2 separate regions of the Homo sapiens genome follow, and region 1 is linked to region 2. The links are contacts of gene promoters, found by promoter capture Hi-C in human tissues and cell types (Jung and others, 2019). All regions are on one chromosome and are shown on one strand. Each heading gives the region's core, a stretch centred on a gene start or on the middle of the fragment in contact. The rest is flanking DNA. Distances are from core to core; before and after follow the strand shown.

The links. The method cuts DNA at HindIII sites, captures the fragments that hold promoters and counts their contacts. A contact is called where the count stands out against the background at its distance.
Region 1: a fragment that was not itself captured here is called in contact with the fragment with the promoter of TNS1 in region 2 in 2 of the 25 tissues and cell types used here (bladder and thymus).

The regions. Positions count from the first base shown.
Region 1 is chr2:216,965,883-216,968,671 of GRCh38, forward strand. No RefSeq gene overlaps it. Among named protein-coding and RNA genes, the nearest start is that of TESHL, 97 kb to the left of the region's middle. The HindIII fragment of the contact is 8,095 bases long and covers 1-2,789 here.
Region 2 is chr2:218,001,586-218,004,285 of GRCh38, forward strand. It overlaps TNS1 (tensin 1), which reads right to left and starts at 1,410. Exons shown (of 33, transcript NM_001387777.1): 1 at 1,255-1,410. The coding sequence starts at 1,287. RefSeq lists enhancers at 1-354, 355-855, 2,596-2,695. The HindIII fragment of the contact is 30,357 bases long and covers 1-2,700 here.

The DNA of each region.
Region 1 (2,789 bases), core at 273-2,772, 1.0 Mb before region 2:
CCGGGTTTCCATGCCACTTTTTCCTCTTGCTCTTTTAGGCTTGGAGGTAACAGCAGCTTCAGTTACGATGCTTTTTCTTTTCGTTTTTTTGAGATGAAGTTTCACTCTTTTGCTGAGGCTGGAGTGAAGTGGCACTATCTCGGCTCAGTGCGACCTCCCTCCCCTGGGTTCAAGCAATTCTCCTGCTTCAGCCTCCCGAGTAGCTAGGATTATAGGCACCTGCCACCATGCCCCACTAATTTTTGTATTTTTAGTAGAGATGGGGTTTCACTGTGTTGGCCAGGCTGATCTCGAACCGCTGACCTCAGGTGATCCACCCACTTGGCCTCCCAAAGTTTTGGGATTACAGGCATGGGCCACTGCGCCCAGCTGATACTTTTTCTTGTGTTCCTCTACACTCAGGGTTGCCGTAGAACTTATTGTCATCCTTAAGAGTCAAAGAGGATGATAAAATAATTATTTTTAATTTGTTTGTTGACCAAAAATTAGTTTTGTTATATTGTGGAGCTTATAAAATAGTTAAAATAGTTCTATTCAAAACTGCTCTCAAAAGTAAAGCTCTTTCTGTTTTTTTTTTTTTTTTTTTTTTTTTTTTTTTTTTTTTTTTTTTTTTTTTTAGACAGAGTCTCACTCTGTCGCCCAGGCTGGAGTGCAATGGTGTGATCTTGGCTCCCTGCAGCCTCCGCCTCCCGGGTTCAAGCAATTCTCCTGCCTCAGCCTCCAGAGTAGCTGGGATTACAGGCATGCACCACCATGCCCAGCTAATTTTTTGTATTTTTAGTAGAGACGGGGTTTCACCATGTTGGTCAGGCTGGTCTTGAACCCCTGACCTCAGGTGATCCACCCACCTCAGCCTTCCAAAGTGCTGGGATTACAGGTGTGAGCTACCATGGCCCGGGCAAAAGTAAAACTCTTTCTAAAAAGCTAAAATAATATATGTGTATATACTCATTAAATCAAAATTATAAAAAGCTTCTTTAAATTTATTATTTATTAAAATTACATGAACAAAGTAATAATTATTCTTGATGCATAGTCATGTATTTTAGTTTCTCTAATGCTTTGTCACTGCAGTTTTTTCTGAAAATTTTTTTTACAATGTTCTCTGAAATATTCCTCTATCTCAATCTCAGGAAGACTAAATACTGCAGATTGAGGAGTGAGTAGAGGCAAGATTATATATATGTGTGTGTATACATACATACACACGTATGTTATATATGTGTGCATGTGTGTGTACACATACATGTACATATATGTACACATATATCTACATATATTTGCAGTTGTAAATGTAGGCTAAGTCTTTTTAAAAGTAAAGAGAGCCAATAGAAATCATTTTTGGAATGCAAAATTGTTCTGGGTATTCACCAATGTAAGGAAAGATATTTTCAGGATTCTTAGAAGTGGAGCTTTGAGAGATTGAAGGGGCCAGGTGTAGGCAGCATGGAGTGCAGGAGAGAGCCCAATCGAATAGAGGGCCCAAGATGAAAGAAATGACATTCCCAGGTTTAGAAAAAGAGGGCTCTGTCCCAGCTTAAAGAATCACCCAAAGATAGAAACAAGTCAGTAGCCCTTAGTGACTAGTACCTATGGAAAGTTTTAGCACCTAATAATCTGTGTGAATGTTAACTACAGTAGTGGAATTTGAGAGTATACTCCTCCTACCTGGGTATGGGCAGAGGAAGAGAGTGGGGAATGAAAAGTCAGTGAAAGAGTGGATGGAGGAGGCTATGGAACCAGGGTTCTGTCCAGCACAGACAGGAATTATCCCTCTTTCTCCCTGTGTGGCAGGGACATCACAGAGAGGACTTGAGGACCTCTTCCAGGCACAGGAGGTAGTGACAAAGCCCTCCTTTCATCAAAGCTCTGTGTTTCTATGGCAGGATTGGGGAGGATGGGAAGGAGGACTCCATTAGGAACAAAGAACATAGTTGCAAACTGTAGCTCCCCATCTTCCATCCTGGAGATGCTTATTAGGGGCCAGAGAAATGCAAGGGGGGTTGGAGAAGCAAGCCACCTAGCCAAAGAGAGGGCAATGGAAAGAATCTAGAAATAGAGTTGGAAGACCCAGTTCCAGCAGGAGGAGCATGAAGGAGACAGATGAGGTGGAGAGTGAAAACCCCTTGGGGGGTTGGCTGGACAGAGGCCAGCAGGGTGGTGGAAAATGGCTGTTGGTGCCAGGAGAAGAATGAACTTGAGTGAGAGGCCATGGGAGGGTGGGGGAAGAGGGCATGGGGCAGGCCCTGCAGGAATCAGAGACATAGTGAGAGCTGATGGTGATTCCAGCTGTCCAACATCCATTCTGCTGATTTGTGCTGGCAGGATGAAGGTCTGGATGGGAGTTGAGAGCAGTAGGCGGTGGAGGAAGCAGGTGCTGCAGGGGGCTGCTGAGGGTCAGGGTGTTGTCTCTTGGGACCAGCATGAGTCACAGCACTGGTTCTCCCACCATGTGCTCCCCAAAAGTGGGATTCTTTTTTTATTCTTATAGTTTGCAGAGTGCTGATTCTAGACCAACTTGTGTTCTGAGAAAGGCTGAGACACCCTAAAAGAGCATGTCAGCTTGGGTCCTGCGGCAGGGCCTCCTTAAGGAGTGCTCCATCTTTGTCCTGGCCCTGGAAAGCTCTAGGCTGGGGCAGGAGAGGGTCAGCGGCTCTGCAGCCAGGGTATGGGGTGGGAGACCTGGGGGCTCCCTTGATACCTGGAGGTCTTTCTGGTCTCCTGAACTTGCTCCTTCTTGCCCATTTTCCATGGTGGTTGCTTGGATGGGAAGGTGTCAGAGAAGGTTC
Region 2 (2,700 bases), core at 160-2,659:
CCCATTTCCCAGATGTCAACACCAGCCCAGTAAACCACAAATGCATCCTGTGTGCAGGCCTCCCCAGTCACTCTCAATCTATTAATCCAATCCATCCCAGCACCCCAGCCCAACATGCCACCCAAACCGCCTCATTCCAGGCCCCCTCCCCCACCCTTTCTTTCTTTGCCCAGAGGACACCTGGCTGCCCGAGTTTGTGTTCCCACAACTGCCCCCAGCATGGGCTTGCCTGGGCCAAGAGGGCCCTCCCGAGGACTGGCCAGAACAAGGAAAGGGACAGGAAAGGCCACATCTGGATCACAGCCCTGAAGCCCCCTCCCCCAAACCAGCCATCACTCTCTCAGAGCCCAACAGTAACCTCAGCCAGGGACGACTTCCTCACCCTCCTGACCCCATGCATGCCTTTGCCTGGCCAAGACAGCCCCACAGGAGCCCCTCTGAGGAAGGGGTCCTCTCCTCCTCTGACCCCCAGCCCTTCTGCAGCAGGCAGCCCTCTCCCATCCCCCTTTACCCAGGAGCCTCAGCCCAGGTCTGGCCTTAAGACTTTTAACCTTCACCACGTGGCCCCCAGGCCTCTCTGCTGGCCCCCCTGGCATCCCCATCCTGAAACCCACCTCCCTGAACCTGGAGCCAAGAGAGAAAGGGGGAAGAGCGGGCCATGGCTCCCTCCTCCAGGATGGAGAGGTCTTGGTAGCAGGGGAGGGCTGTGGAGGAAGGGATGGCAGTGGGTGGAAGCTGAAACTGGGTGTAGAAGGAATAAAAGGGATGGACTCTGAGAATTCTCCCACAGCCCAGCTCTTCCAGACTTAATATTTTGGACTACTATTCTTTGCTCCCCAGCCCCACCACTGCCTCCTCCTCAAGATCTTGGGCTCAGCAACTGAGGGGGGGCGGTGAAGAATTTTCACCCCATTGTAGGATGCAAGTCGGGAGGAAAGGCTCTAAAGAGAAGCAAACTTCTCTGTGGCCTCCTTCCACTTACAGCTCTGGGACTCCATTGGGGGGTGGGGGGGTGGGGCAGGGGATGTACTGACCCGGGACCCTGGGCCTGGGCCCTGTTGGTGGGGAAAGTCTTCCGGCTGAGGGTTGCTCAAGTCAGTCTGTCCTTCTGTAGGTCAGAGACAGAAAGGCCCCTCCTTCAAGACTGACACCCCCCGACCCCGGGCTCTCAGCAAAAGGATAAGGTGGCAGGGGCCGGTGGGGGGCGGGGGGTTTGAGGAAGAGTAACGTCGCAGCTAAAGCAGCCAGACCTACCCAGAGCATGCAGGACAGACAGATCCACGTCATCTTTGCTGGGTCCCGTCACTGAGGCACGCCCAGGGCCTGTGAAGAGCCCCTGAAGCTAGAGTCCCCGCGGCGCTGGCAGAAGGGCTCTCTGAGTCCGCGGCTGCTCCGGCTCCGCCAGCATCTGCTGGGCCTCTCGCCCTGCTGCCTCCAGCTCACCCTCCCTCCTCCTCCTCCTCCCCCCACTCCACCCCTCGTCCCAGCCTCCTCTCTCCTCCCTCCTCCCAGGCTCCACCGGTGGCCTTGAGGGTCAGGAACCCTGCTTTGCAGGGGGTGTAAAGGGGACAGGGAAAAGGGAAAGCTACCAGAGGCAGGGCCCCCCCAGGCCGTGCCCCCCACCCCCGGACACACAACCCCTGTGTGCCACCAAGGCTCCTCAGTCTTCTGATCTGGTGCTGGTAGGCCTGGAGTCCTCCCTCCTCACTGCAGACCCCCGCCCCTGGCAAACCAGCCTGGGGGCCTTCACTCCTGGAACCCTCCAGACCACTGATGGATGAACAGACAGCCCCAGGCCCACACAATCAGCACACTCAGGGTGCCTTGGCCCCTCCCCTTCTCTGAGTACCCGTGCCTGCCTTCCTGGCCTCCTCGGAACACACATGCATTTGCACACACAGACTGGGACAGACTCTGGTGCCCACGCGCCAAGCTCAGAGCCCAGGACAGGCCTTAACACAGAAGAAATAGGGCCCGAGACTGGGGAAGAATGGCCCTGCCCCCAGGCTGTGGGTTTCATTCCAATTTTTTTCCTATTTCTTTTTTTTTCCCCCTTCTTTCTTTCTTTCCTGCAAACATCTGTCCCAGCCTTTCCTGCCCTTCTGAAAGGGAGCCCCGCTCCAGGCTCCCGCGAGAGTGTGTTTTTCTTGACTGTACCCGGGGCCAACATTTGGTTTGCATTTCCCCACTTCCTCCCCCTCCTCCCCTCTCCCCCTCCCTGGGCCCAGTTCTCCCCTCCCACCATTCCACAGGCCTATTTCTTCCCCTCAGTGTCCCCTGCCCACCAGCCCTCCCCTCCCCTCGCCCCCACCTCTGCCCAGGGACAATTGTTGGGGGTCTAGAGGGTGGAAAGGAGGCTGGGTCAAAACCCAAAAGTATTCCCACGGAGCACTAAGGGGGAATCCAGCAAAGTCTGCCCCAGGCCTTCATTGTCTGGAACCACCACGTTCCCCTCCAAAAAAAACCCTTCCTCTTTGAGCTCTGGCCTTGGCTGGACCAACTGAGGGTGGGTGGGGGCCAGTGAATCACCCGCTCTGTTCTTTGGAGCTGTCCAGGAGAAGGAGGGAGGGCTCAGCCCCACACCCTCCTGTGGACACACACACACACAAGGACACAGTCCAACTCACGTCAACACATAAGAGCCCTCCCAGAGTAGGCACTTGGAGACCTCGTTCCTAGACTGAGTCACTTAGCAAGAAA